Regions from separate parts of the Homo sapiens genome. Here regions 1, 2, 3 and 4 are each linked to region 5. Evidence: promoter capture Hi-C in human tissues and cell types (Jung and others, 2019). All regions are on one chromosome and are shown on one strand. The core of a region is centred on a gene start or on the middle of the fragment in contact, and the rest is flanking DNA. Distances in the headings are between cores, read along the strand shown. Region 1 overlaps TEX264 (testis expressed 264, ER-phagy receptor). Region 2 has its middle 10 kb from the start of IQCF1. Region 3 has its middle 6.4 kb from the start of IQCF2. Region 4 holds the start of IQCF5 (IQ motif containing F5). Region 5 holds the start of IQCF6 (IQ motif containing F6).

The links. Contacts are between HindIII fragments. The study calls those that stand out against the background at their distance.
Region 1: a fragment that was not itself captured here is called in contact with the fragment with the promoter of IQCF6 in region 5 in 3 of the 25 tissues and cell types used here (H1 embryonic stem cells, ovary and pancreas).
Region 2: a contact is called between a fragment that was not itself captured here and the fragment with the promoter of IQCF6 in region 5, in 7 of the 25 tissues and cell types used here (IMR-90 fibroblasts, dorsolateral prefrontal cortex, heart right ventricle and 4 more).
Region 3: a contact is called between a fragment that was not itself captured here and the fragment with the promoter of IQCF6 in region 5, in 2 of the 25 tissues and cell types used here (adrenal gland and thymus).
Region 4: a contact is called between the fragment with the promoter of IQCF5 here and the fragment with the promoter of IQCF6 in region 5, in 2 of the 25 tissues and cell types used here (heart right ventricle and thymus).

The regions. Positions count from the first base shown.
Region 1 is chr3:51,692,045-51,694,744 of GRCh38, reverse strand. All of the region lies in intron 3 of TEX264 (testis expressed 264, ER-phagy receptor), which reads right to left. It also overlaps the pseudogene RNA5SP132. Among named protein-coding and RNA genes, the nearest start is that of GRM2, 14 kb to the left of the region's middle. RefSeq lists an enhancer at 2,260-2,700. The HindIII fragment of the contact is 3,839 bases long and covers 1-2,700 here.
Region 2 is chr3:51,891,956-51,894,655 of GRCh38, reverse strand. No RefSeq gene overlaps it. Among named protein-coding and RNA genes, the nearest start is that of IQCF1, 10 kb to the left of the region's middle. The HindIII fragment of the contact is 5,841 bases long and covers 1-2,700 here.
Region 3 is chr3:51,853,881-51,856,580 of GRCh38, reverse strand. No RefSeq gene overlaps it. Among named protein-coding and RNA genes, the nearest start is that of IQCF2, 6.4 kb to the left of the region's middle. The HindIII fragment of the contact is 3,432 bases long and covers 1-2,700 here.
Region 4 is chr3:51,874,304-51,877,003 of GRCh38, reverse strand. IQCF5 (IQ motif containing F5) reads left to right here and starts at 1,403. Exons shown (of 2, transcript NM_001145059.2): 1 at 1,403-1,476. The coding sequence starts at 1,473. It overlaps IQCF5-AS1 (IQCF5 antisense RNA 1), which reads right to left. Exons shown (of 3, transcript NR_109984.1): 3 at 1,237-2,616. The HindIII fragment of the contact is 13,062 bases long and covers 1-2,700 here.
Region 5 is chr3:51,777,970-51,780,669 of GRCh38, reverse strand. IQCF6 (IQ motif containing F6) reads left to right here and starts at 1,433. Exons shown (of 2, transcript NM_001368369.1): 1 at 1,433-1,517; 2 at 1,679-2,107. The coding sequence starts at 1,446. The coding sequence ends at 2,047. All of the region lies in intron 2 of LOC105377087 (a long non-coding RNA gene), which reads right to left. The HindIII fragment of the contact is 12,191 bases long and covers 1-2,700 here.

The DNA of each region.
Region 1 (2,700 bases), core at 166-2,665, 86 kb after region 5:
GCAGGCAAAGGAGACAGGGAGTAAGACAGGATGGCCAGGGAGGGAAAAGAGGAAGCAGGAAGTGGCAGAGAGCACCCCAGGCAGGAGCCTAGGGCATTGGCTTGGCTACACAAATCGGTAGCTTCCCTCTGGCCCTCAATTTGCCCAAGTATGAAATAAAGGGTCTACAGTCATACCACCCTGAATGCACCTGATCTTGTCTGATCTCAGAAGCTAAGCAAGGTCGGGTCTAGTTAGTACTTGGATGGGAGACTGCCTGGAATACCGGGTGCTGTAGGCTTTTGGCCTATCGTTCCCTCCCTCTTTCCCTCTTTGGCCAGGCGCGGTGGCTCATGCCTGCAATCCTAGCACTTTGGGAGGTCAAGGCGGGTGGATTACTTGAGGTCACAAGTTTCAGACCAGCCTGGCCAACATAGTGAAACCCTGTCTCTACTACAAATACAAAAATTAACCAGGTGTGGTGACAGGTGCATGTAATCCCAGCTACCCGGGAGGCTGAGGCAGGAGAATTGCTTGAATGCGGGAGATGGAGGTGCAGTGAGCCGAGATCGCGCCACTGCACTCCAGCCCGGGCAACAGAGCAAAACAAGAAAGAAGGAAAGAAGGAAGGAAGGAAGGAAGGAAGGAAGGAAGGAAGGAAGGAAGGAAGGAAGGAAGGACGGACGGAAGGAAGGGGAAGGGAAGGGAAGGGAAGGGAGGAAGGAAGGAAGGAAGGAAGGAAGGAAGGAAGGAAGGAAGGAAGGAAGGAAGGAAGGAAAGAAAGGGATTAGAATAGATGATCTCAAAAGAAGTGAGGAACTGGAAAGGATGAATAAAAACACCATTATGTGACGGTAAGAAAACTATACTCAGAAAACCCAAAAAGAATCAATGGAGGGACTACCACAAACATTAAGTCACAAAGGTAACTCAAGCACAGCCCATTTTTCTGTGCAACAGATCAGCCAAGTAGAAAACATAATGGAGGCCGGGAGTGGTGGCTCACGCCTGTCATCCCAGCACTTTGGGAGGCCAAGGTGGGCAGATCACCTGGGGTCAGGAGTTCGAGACCAGCCTGGCTGACATGGTGAAACCCCATCTCTACTAAAAATACAAAAATTAGCTGGGCGTGGTGTCGGATGCTTGTAGTCCCAGCTACTTGGGAGGCTGAGGCAGAAGAATTGCTTGAATCCGGGAGGCAGAGGTTGCAGTGAGCCGCGATCGTGCCACCGCACTCCAGCCTGTGTGACAGAATGAGACTCTGTCTCAAAAAAAAAAAAAAAAAAAAACATAATGGAAACGAGATATAATGGCCCTCTTGGGGTTAGGTCGAGCCCAGGGCCAGCCTGGGAGCCACCGGCTGAAAGGCAGGGAATGGCAGAGGAGCCAGGGAGGCAGGTCCAGGCCTGGGTGGGAACCTGGGGAAGACTGCAGGAGTGGGAAGGTGTGAGAGAGAATGGGGCGGGAGACGGTGTGCTGTGCCTGGCACCCCAGCCTGCTGCGCCTGCTGCCGCCACTGCCTGAAGACTTTTCATTTTCACCTCAGAGCCGGCAGCTCACCACACAATTTACACCTCTATTCATCTCCCTGGCACGACGCAGGCCCTGGCTTCCTCGGTGTCCTGTGGAGGAGGGCCTAGGCAGCAGTCAAGCACAGGGCAGCCTGGGGTATTGAGGGGTGGGGAAACAATGTTTCCCTCTAAGCAGGCACATGGGACACAGGCTCTTAAGCACCTTAGTGCCCAGATGGACTGGGAGGCCCCTAATCCTGCATCCATACCCAGCCTTACCTTTCTCTAGGCCCAGAGGGCCAAGATACAACCCTGGTTCAGCCCTGCTCTGGCCTTCTTGGGCCTGGGCCGTTGTGTGGCCAGACCAGAGGGTTGGGGAGTACAGGAGTGAGTACCCCAAGGAGAGCTCAGCTAGAGCACTGGGTGAGTCAGCCCTGATCCCATTGCTCTCCCTTGCAAATCTGGGAGGAGAGCCACAGCCTTCCAGATGATGGCTCTACCATCGCAGGCTCCACAGCCCACCCCCTCTCCAAGATCCAGCATTCTTAGCAGCTTGTCTGTGTAGTCAAGGACCTTGAGCCCTGTCCTGCTCACAAGCTGACAAACTGGTTGCTGATGATTATCCAGCAGCAGGAAGGCTGCTCGTACAGATGGAGCTGGGAAGCCAAGCACCTGAGAGCCAGAGGAGTCAGGAATTGCCAGAGGGGAAGGACAAGTGGGCAAGTGGGAATGGAGAGGAGACAGGGGACAGAAGAGAGGGAGAGAAGGAGAAGGCCCTGAATTTCTCATCTCCAACTGGTACCTCTGACCTCTGCTCCACTCCTCAGTGAAGTCCTTTCCTTCCCACCTGCATAACTAGACAGCTAGCCTCTCCTAATCTGAGGGCTCAGCTGAAGAAGAAGTTGTTCTGCTTGGGGGAGAGGGGGTGCACTGCAAATTCTCTCCTTGGAATCTCTTTCCCCTCCCTAATTCCAATCTCAAGCTTCCTGGAGAAGAGCAACAGAATTCTTCTTTGATAAGTAAATTCCATCTGCCTGGGGAAGAAGGCTCCCTCTGGACTGGTGACAGCCCAACCCCACAGCACCATCCAGACAAGCTTCAGCCCCCAGGGTCCTGCAGGGCTGCCAAGCTACAATATCCGAGCTGGTATTTTGAGAGTGGTGGCTCCCACGCCGCCCTAGCAAAGGCTGGCTTTGTGCTTTCATTCCTG
Region 2 (2,700 bases), core at 187-2,686, 110 kb before region 5:
CATCATTCGTATTTACATCATTCTGTGTACATAGTGCACCCTCCCTAGGACTTGGTATAATGGAAGCCTGGCGGGTGGTGGTCATGGCAATGGCAACACATTCTCCAGGAATTCACTCGTCTGGGTCTAGTTGCTCAGGGCTTGTTCCCCAACCCCTAGGACTGAGAGGAGCCCCCCAACCCCAAGCCCTGTGATCTTGTCTCCCTGCTGCACTGGGGGCTATGTCCTTATACTTGGCTTCTAAGAATCTGAGACCCAAACTGGAAGCTGTTAGCATAACTCAAGTCCTCATCCTAACCCCAAACCCCAACTGTCCCTTGCCCTCGAGCCCCGTATGAAAACTAGGACTCATTTTCCTCCAGACCAGGCTGGTATGGGAGGTTCCACAGGCAAGGGGGTGGGAGAGAGGGCATTTTGCTGCCAACCCAACCCTCTGGTGAGTGTTAGACCTCAGGCTATCACAGCTGCAGGAGCTGAGGAGGCATTAGTTTTGTGTTCCTTACCCTCCCCACTGGCCCAACTTCTGCAAGGGCCAATCCAGGCAGAGCTGGCTCCTCTGAAAGTCCCTCCCTGTGAAATGCTGCCAGCTGGGGTGGGGTTGGGGCCCAGGTGATGATAAGGGCCAAATAAGAGGTGAAGATTTGCATTACTCTGATGATTACTGATGTTGAACAATTTTTCATATACCTGTTTGCCATTTAGCAGGTAACAATGTAGTATATATTTCTAGATACTTAAAAAAAGATTTTGAATGTTGTCACTACAAAGAAATGATAAATGTTTAAAGTGATGGATATGGTAAATATCCCAATTTGGTCATTATAGTATATATACATGCATTGAAATATAACATTGTACCCCATAATTATGTATAATTATTGTCAATTATAAATTAAAAAATTAATAACAACAAAAAAAGAGGTTAAGATTAGGCTGAACATCTGCCTGTCAACACTGCTGTCCCTGTCCTGTGGTTCCCTGCACAGAGGGAGGATTCTGAGGTCTGGGTCACAGCCCTATGTCCAGCCCTGCTTCAGTGACTGTGCCCTGGAGAGCTGGTCCCTCAGCTCATAGATGTTCTGAGATGCTGCCCAGAAGTCTCAGGCTCTAGCTCTCGAGCATGAGCTCTGTATTTCCTGCTCTGTCCTGCCATGTCCTGCCCCTTGTGTCTCATTCAGGGCCTGGGTCTCTCATACCCACTCTGAAGGATTCTTGTCTTTCTCCTTGCCCCTGTTGTCCTGTGTTCAGAGTATCAGGGCACAGAGCTCTGACCTCTGACTGCTCCACCTCTCATTGCCCTGTGGCCATAGACAAGTGATTTCCCCTCTCTGAGACCAGTGTCCTGAGCTGTGAACTGGTGCTAACCTTCCCCACCTTCCAGGGTAAACAGTCAAGCACCATAAAAACTAGCATCTTCAAAACATCAAGTTTGTACACCTACATTGTATTTAACTTTGTTAATTATACCTCAATAAAGCTAAAAAATAATTCTGCATCAGCATCAAAACAAGGAAAGGGGTCACAAACAAGCCTTAAATACTGGTAGCCATGGAAAAAGCAGCCAATTCTGGGGTCAGCTGGAGTGGCCCAGCAGAGCATATGGAGGCATGCTCATCATTGTTGAGGTACTCCCACTCCCAGGCCTCCTCAGTGGACAGAGCCAGGAAATACATGTTTGTGTATATGCACAAGCATCGCACATTTATATCTGTGTTCATTTCTGTGCCTATCTATATGGAAATCTGTGAGCTCACACTGATACCTCCAATCCCAAATTTAAGAATTCACTCTAGTTTTCTCCTTTCCATATTTCTTTTCTTTTCTTTCCTTTTTGAGATGGAGTCTGGCTTTGTTGCCCAGGCTGGAATGCACTGGCACAATCTCGGCTCACTGCAACCTCCGCCTCCCTGGTTCAAGCAATTCTCCTGCCTCAGCCTCCCGAGTAGCTGGGATTATAGGCGGCCACCACAACGACTGGCTAATTTTTGTATTTTTAGTAAAGACAGGGTTTTGCCATGTTGGCTGGGCTGGTCGTGAACTCCTGACCTCAAGTGATCCACCCATCTCGGCCTCCAAGTGTTGGGATTACAGGTGTGAGCCACTGTGCCCGGCCTCCTTTCCATATTTCTACCTCTTCTTTTCTGAGAATGACACCCCTAGCTCCCATGATCTTTAATACATTTTCTTATTTGATCTTCCCTTTGTGCAACTAATTCTGCACAGCTACTGCTGGCCCCTCTCTCACAGAGACAATGGCCCATTTCTCTTGATCTCTGATATACGATGCCGTCTATTGTCCTCTTCTTGTGGCTCAGGCTGTGGCTCCCTACATTGGTCTGACGACTGGGGTAAATGCTCTTTCACCCAACCTGAGCTGACACAAAATGTCAGGCTACCCTCTGCGTGGATATCCTCCTCACTGTGCTCAAGTTCTGATGGTCTATGCCACCAAGGATGCCCTTCTCATCCTGCCCAATATGACGCTATTACTGGTATGGACTTACATCCCTGTGTGAACTCCTCCTCCCACTGCCTGGGTTCCATACTGGTCCCTCCTAGAACAATGCTTTCCTCCTCTGTCTTGTGACCCTCCCTCACCTGGCTCTGTTCCATGGTGGCTCTCTTTCCCCCTGGTGCAGCTATGTTGCACTGCCCAGCCTGAGGATTTCAGACTGACGGAGTGATTCAGGAAGGAAAGGG
Region 3 (2,700 bases), core at 166-2,665, 76 kb before region 5:
TTGCTGATTAGTCCCTTTTACAGAGCACTGATTGGTCCATTTTTCAGAGTGCTGATTGGTCCCTTTTTACAGAGTGCTGATTGATGTGTTTACAAACTTTAGCTAGACACAGAGCACTGATTGGTGCGTTTTTACAGAGTACTGATTGGTGCATTTACAAACCTTTAGGTAGACACAGAGTGCTGATTGGTGCGTTTTTACAGAGTGCTGATTGGTGCGTTTACAAACCTTTAGCTAGACACAGAGTGCTGATTGGTGTGTTTTCAATCCTTTAGCTAGACAGAAAAGTTCTCTGAGTCCCCGCCTGACCCAGAAGCCCAGCTGGCTTCACTTCTCAATCCCCCCTCTAAACAGGACAACCCAACTGCTGTTGGGAATTGGGCAATGACCATTCTAGCAGCTTCCTGCTGGACAGGGGTGAAGAAGGGGCCCTGCAGTTTTAATGTCCTCCAGAGGGGAACACTTTAGGCCAGTGAAAGGGCCAGCAGGTTGGTCCAGGGGTCCTTGGTAGAAGTTGTTAGTTGAGCTCATTTGGGGTTCCATTTGTAAGACCATCTGTAGCTCAATGGCCTCGATCCTAGAGGAAACAAATTTGACAAAGAGGTTAAAAATACAGGGCCCAAAGGCGAGTAATAGCAAGATGGCTGCCATGGGACCTAGAAAGGGAAGAGGTCATGTTGCCCAACTCTAGAGGTTGGTATAAGAGTTTGAAAGGCATTGTCTGATTTCAGAAGCCTTTTCCTGTAAATGCCGGGTGGCATCTTGTACTCTCCCTGACTGGTTAGTGTAAAAACAACACTCTTCTCCTAAGAAGGTGCAGAGTCCTTCTTTCTCAGCAGTGAGGAGGTCTAGGCCTTGGCAGTTTGGAGAGTCACTGCTGCCAAAGAGTCTATTTGGGATTTTAGAGTAAGGATAGATTTCATTATTTCTTACAAACTGTCTGAGAAATCCTTTGAGAATGTGTGGTAGTAGGATTATGAAATAGATAAACTGGCTCTTCCGGTTCCTGTAGCAGTAGCCATTCCTAACCTTATAAGTAGGGGTATTAGTTGTATGGCTCTGTGCTGATGGACTTGAGCTTTGAGGGGTACTGATAGGGTCTGATTTCCACAAGATTAGAAGTTAGGATGATATATGTTTACACTGTTAACTTTTAGCAAACTTTACTTTTGTTGAAAACCTTGTAAGTTTGGGATTTCAATTATTCTTTGCTATTAATAAGACTTTGTTCAGTCCATATTAACTTAGAATTGGTATAGATGGCTCCTTCCTGATTCTGTAAGTTCTTTGAGGTTTGGCTGAGTGCAAAGAGCTCACACATTTGAGCAGACCAATTATTAGCCAATTTTCCTAACTCTGCTTCTACACGAGTTTCCTTATCATTTACTGAATACCCATTGTGTCTTTTTTCCTTAATTGCCTGGGAGGAACCATCTATCGTCCTGTCCTGAAGGGAGTTCCTCCTAGATCTGGTCTGACCTTTGTATGGTAATTAATTAAGATTTAGATCCCCTGTTAGGAAACCTGCTGGGTTAAGGATTTTTGATAGGAAGCCTACGTGTTGTCAGTGGCCTCAGTGCTTTCAGGCTATACCCTTGTTTACACTGACAACAAGGTGGTATTGGAGTGTTATAGGGTTACAGAGAAGACCTTCAATTATCAATTATAGGTTTTAAATTTACCCTGGCTTCTAAAGGAATAGGGTACACTGTTTTTTCTTTACTACTTCTATCTCTCTTTCTCTTTGACTTCTTCTTTGTCTCTCTCTTTCTGACTCCGTCTTTGTCTGTCTCTTCCTCTCTCTCTTTGACTTTCTGTGTCTCTCTTTCTCTCTCTCCCTGACTCCCTCTTTGTCTCTCTCTTCCTCTCTCTCTCTCTCTGACTTTCTGTCTCTTTCTCTCTTTCCTTTCTGCTGGTCTTTCCCTGCCTCTGCCAGCCACTTATGCTGCTGTTCTCCCCTCTCCTTCCCCTTTTGATGGCTTTGGCAGTGTAAGACTGTCACCTCCTTGGGTTTTTGCACTGCATGCAATAATTCCATGGTTTCCTTGTGGTATTTAATGGGGGTTCCCCCAGAGGTTAGGAACCCCCTTTCTTTCCATATTGCAGCATGGGCATGTAGGATTAGATAAGCATACTTGCTATCTGTATACACATTTATTCTTTTTCCCCTTCCCAGTTCTAAGTCTTGGGTAAGTGCCACTAGTTCTCCTAACTGGGTGCTGGTCCCTGGGGGAGGAGGCTTACTTTCAAGTATGGTTACATCACTAACTATGGCATAACCTGCCCTTCATATCCCATTCTTCATAAATAAACTTCCATCGGTATATAGGTTAAGGTCAGGATTAGCTAAGGGGACTTCTAAGAGATCATCTTGGGCGGCATAAGTCTGGACTATAATTTGTTGGCAGTCATGCTTGATTGGTTTCCCCATTCTCTGGGAAAAAAGTGGCAGAGTTGAGGGCCATACATGTGTGTATTTGAAGCACCGGTCCCTCAAGGAGTAGCGCCTGGTATCTAAGCAGGCGGCTGTCTGATAGCCATAAACTTCCTTTGGCATCTAGTAAACCATTTACATCATGAGTAGTCCAGACAGTGAGATCCTTTCCTTGTATTATTTTGATAGCCTCTGACACTAAGATTCCCACCACCACAACTACCTGTAAACAGTGAGGCCAGCCTTTTGCTACTACATCAATTTCC
Region 4 (2,700 bases), core at 154-2,653, 96 kb before region 5:
TGCTGTGTCCCCATTGACGACAGCTGTCCCCACTGCAGTGCACACACATGGATTCACAGTGTGCCTTCTTCAGAGTCTGGCTTCTTTTGCTTGGCTAATTTTTTAAGATTCAGGATGGAGGTTTTTTAGCGGGATTTTTCTAGAAACGATGAGAACCGGAAGCTTTGGGAAAACATGGAGATGCTGGGGTCTGCATGATGTGGTGGTTTAGAGCCAAGGCTCAGGGTGGAGCAGAGCTGGGACCAAATGCTAGCTCCACAGCTGACCAGCTATGAAACAGGGTGACGTGAGCCAGGCATGATCTCTGCACCTCCATTGCGAAGTGGGACTAATATCACTGCATTGCTATTACCACGGACAGGAATGTGGTGACTAGTGGCTTGACTCAGGAGCCAGACTGATGGAGGCACTAAATTGACAGAGGTCTCCCGGGGGCCTGGCCAAGATCTTTATCTTCAAATAGGTGCTTCCTGCTCCCTCTCTGTCCTACACATTGTACCCCACTATTTCCCCATCCCCCACCTCATTGCTGTCTTCCCCACTCCCTCATTCCATTAACTTCAAACTGACACCCCCGCCATCCTCAAAGCACCTCCTCCTCTTCCCTACATTCCCCCTACAGATCCACATCGGCCTCTCCCATACTCACCCTACACATTCCCAGTGCATTCCTCAGTGACCACGGGGGCTGTGCCTCACCACGTCCAGCTGGGTCTTAAGAGGTTGCAATCAGGCAGAAAGGGGCCCTGCTTCTGCAGAGGCCACCCTCATCTATCTGATCGTGGCCTTGAGGTGCTCAGGGACAGAGGAAGACAGGAGAGCACTTTAACCCATTTGAGCTTTGGATGGAGCCCAGGCTAGTCCTGGGGGCCTCAAGGAGTTTTCTGGCCTGTGTGTGTCCTGTCCTCTCAGGTGCCTAAAAACAGACTGACCTGCAGATAGGTCAGACATAGGGGGCTTAGCAACAGTGAAGGAGTTTTTCGTGTCCCTCCAATTCCACCGTCCTCATCAGAGATATTGTTAGTTTTTGTGTACATCCTTCTATCCCCCCTTTTTAAGATAATGCCTTTACAGCACATGTGTATAAATGTGTGTTTATATTGGGATCACCTTGCCTTTCATCTTGATTTGATTCACTTATGAAATCTTGTACTTTTCTATATCTGTACATAGAGAGCAAACCCATTCTAATAGTTATTTGGAATACCAGGGTGTAAAGGAACTGAAAGGCATTTAATGAATACCAGCCAGATTTTAATGAGCAGCATTATATACCTTTGTGTCAATGGGTCAGTACTTGGGGTCTTCTAGGTTTTCCTTAGAAGAGGCTCATATGCTGGAAGCTGTCCTGGTGCCTGCATCACAGGTGCCCTTATGACATCACAGGTCCCGCCCTTCCTCCACTCTTCCTGTTGGAGTCCTGATCGGAGGAGTGCGGGCCGGAGGGTGATGGGACCATCTAGCCCCTAACCATGGGTAATTTAGTAAAGTCCAGACCTGTGCGAATTTTACGACCTGTCCCCAGTCAGATGTTTTGTAAGAGGCAGTCAGAACCACACTAGCTTTCTGAGGGGAGAGTAAGTTCCCCACAGTTACTCATGACAGGACCCCCCTCCATGTTTGAAGTCCTAGAGAAAGCCAGGAAGCTGTCTAGAAACAGTGAGAATGGTGTTTGACTTGGCACCTAGCAGTGGGAGAGCACCTTTCACTTTCTTCCCTATTTCCCCCCATACACTCTGATTCCAGAAGGATGGCAAGCTGTTTTAAATGATCATTAAACATAATGATGAAATCACATCGATAGAACAGAGCTGGAAGGAACAAAGGGGAGAAGAGGGAAGCGACTCCACCCCCAACACCCTCACCCCTACCAGGCCACACCCTTACCCACAACTCCGTGAGTGGCTGGGTCCAGAGAGCCTTAACTAGTGACATCTCTGACCCCTGTGGTCCAGCAGAGTGACTCAAAGATCTATGACCCTGTAATTTATTGTACAAAGAGTGGCTTCAGTGAGGGAAACAGGCACCTGTCCTCATTACCTGACATCAATCAGGGTGTTCCAGAAAAACTGGGGTGAAACGTCAGGGTATGCAGAGCTGGAATGAATGGGGACTGGCTGTCTCTTGCCCCCATTTTCTTGTCAGGCGGAGAGATGTGAGTCTGGCTGAGATACGGAGTGGAGACTGTGGCCAGGAGTGGGGCAGAGGAGTGTGATCCCGGACCATATAGGGCTGGGGGCTGCAAGTGGGGACTGTGGGGAATGCAGGACCAAGGGGCAAAATGTGTGTTAGTGTGTGGAGTGTGCATGTTTGTACAGATGCATGCATAGCTGAAGTTCAAGCTGTTCACAATGTGTGTGAGGTGGAGGAATCTGTTACCACTTTGGTGAGGAGGAAGGAACACAGCAGCTTGTGGGTTTGACTTGAAGTCAGAGTAAAGAGGGCAGGAGGAGCAAAGGACACCACTTCTTCAGCGGATGGGAGGGCTCTGAAGGGAAGAGTCATGGATCCCAGGTAGATGGCAGCTCTTTTACCTCTAAGTCACAGTGTTCTTGCTCTAGACTGGCCAGCAAGGTCCATGGAAAATGGAATGAGGTAGCTAGGGCAGATGTACACCTATTTTGCAGATGGGGACATTGAAACTCAGAGGTCAAGTGAGGTGAGCACATCCACTAACCTGTGGGTGGCAGAGGGGGGACA
Region 5 (2,700 bases), core at 184-2,683:
TACAACTGCATTGTCTACAGAAATATTCTTATGATTGACATTTGGTATGCATAAAGCATGTGATTTTTCACACTGACTTCCACGTTGTTTACAGTAGCTCTGCTGGTTGTGCCCTACAATCACAGGAATTCAGATAAATTCTATTTCACAAAATTCCCACCAAGAAAAGAAAAAAGTATGGAAATGTTTAAAATTGTATCATTGCATTGTCAAGTATATTCCTGAAAAGAGAGAGCTTCAATTTTAATCAGGCATCAATGAGACTTGAATCTTCCACTTATAGTTTTACACATCTAATAACAGGAAGAATTTTCTACAGACTGGCTTCTGGTTCCATACTTTTCACATTTACTTTTCCTCCCCTGCCCAAATACTTTTGGTGCCAGCACTGGAAGACACGTTCTTATTGGATAGCAGCCCTTCTGTTCCTGCATCTTCACGCCATGAGCAAGGTGAATGAACACAGCAACAGCAGAATGGCTAGCAAGGATTTATGTGTTCCCAAGGGTGACTGTGAACCACACAAATCTATGCTGTTAAACTGAGTCTAGGCCGGGCGCGGTGGCTCACGCCTGTAATCCCAGCACTTTGGGAGGCAGAGGAGGGCGGATCACGAGGTCAGGAGATCGAGACCATCCTGGCTAACACAGTGAAACCCCGTCTCTACTAAAAAGACAAAAAATTAGCCGGGCGTGGTGGCGGGCACCTGTAGTCCCAGCTACTCAGGAGGCTGAGGCAGGAGAATGGCCTGAACCTGGGAGGCGGAGCTTGCAGTGAGCCGAGATTGTGCCACTACACTCCAGCCTGGGCGACAGAGCGAGACTCTGTCTCAAAAAAAAAAAGAAAAAAAAAAACTGAGTCTATCCCAACTCAGCCTTCCCTTAGTCTCGTGGCAAAAGAGGTTGCCATTCCACCCCACTCAACAGGAGGTGAGTGACAGAGGGAGTAAGAGGGAAGAGAGACAGAGGTCCTCTCCAATTGCAGCTGAAATATCTTGCTTTCACAAATTTTACCCAAAAATATACAGCTCTGTAAACACGTTCCTCGGGCCCTGACAGGCGCCCTGACACTTAAGCTTCAGGAAATCCAAATTGGCTATGAGTAGAGGCTTAAAGTAAAACTCCTTCCTTGTAGGTAAGCTGCATGACTCTCTCTTCACTGCCATCAGGAGGATCAGGAATGCCACTGGGGCTGAGAAATAAACTGAAGGCAAGAGATAATGGTAGGCTCCCAAAGTGGTGGGAATCAATAAAGCAAAAGAGATGAAAGCAAGAGAAGAGGAGAGAGAAATGTGGTTAAAATGCGTGCAGACGGGACCTGATGAGGTAGAGTCTTGTGTGCAAGTGGGCGGAGTCCAATGATGGAGGTGTGACTAACAGTTGAGGGTGGGGCTAAAGACAAGGGTGGCCTAAGTGACAGATAAGTGGACCCTAAGGATCAAGGCCATGGACACGCAAAATGTGAGTAAGGCCCTTGCAGTAGGGACTTACCTGACAGGTAATGAACCGTGTCTAAATGTGAGTGGGGGATTGGAAACAAGATGGATGGGCCCTAGAAACAAGAAGTCAGGGGCACCTGGGCCAGGCCTTCTTTCCTCCCAAGATCAGAGATGGGGATAGGAACAGGAGGGGAGGGTCCCCCATTGAGCATCTCCCTGTTTTTCCTTTCCCCCAATCAGTTAGAGAAGACAGCCATAAAGATTCAGTCATGGTGGCGTGGAAACATGGTGCGCCGGACGTTACTGCAGGCAGCACTCAGAGCCTGGGTCATCCAGTGCTGGTGGAGGTCAATGCAGGCCAAGATGTTGGAGCAAAGACGGCGCCTGGCACTAAGACTCTATACCTGCCAGGAGTGGGCGGTGGTGAAGGTGCAGGCACAGGTTCGAATGTGGCAGGCCCGCAGGCGGTTCCTCCAGGCACGCCAAGCGGCCTGCATCATCCAGTCTCACTGGCGCTGGCATGCCAGCCAAACCCGAGGCCTGATCCGGGGCCACTATGAGGTCAGAGCCAGCCGGCTGGAGCTTGACATCGAAATCCTCATGACCTAGGGCGCTGACAGAGCCAAGGAGGCTGGATCTCTCTTCCAATAAAGACCCTTACTGACCATACACTTGCCCTTTGGAGATTAGACTCATGGAGGAGGGTTCAGCCTCTAAGTTTTCTGCCTTCCCCCCAGAAAGATTCCCTGGTGTGGTCTAGAGCCCCTGTCCTCAGGTCACCAACCTAGGCCCCTGTTCCTAACAGCATACCGGGACAGTCTTGCATCCAAGAGAGACCCCAGGGCCCAGGTCAAGCAATGATGCCTCAGTCAGCCTGATTTTGGCCCCTTCCACAGTGGGAGTAGGCATTGGGCTTTAGTTTCCTGCAGCCCCTGTCCAGGCATCTCCATTCAGATCAGAAGATCAGAGAATCTGGCTGCAGCCAGGGCCAGCTGGGAAGGCCAGGATTCCACAGGCCTGTGCTTGGCAAGGCCCTCAGGGCCGGCAGAGTGCTTGGCAGGGAGCCAGGAGGACATGGCACTTCAGCTGGGCAACAGCAGGACAGACGCTGTGCCTTATGGTGGGGAAGGGAGTCAGGGAGCAGCCAGCCAGAGCCAGCCCCTGGGGAAGCCAGAGCAGGAGCTGAGGGCAGCAGCTGTGCCTGCCGCCTGCCCACCCTGGGGCTGAACAACAAGGCTTCCCTCCCCTCTGCTGGGCACTTC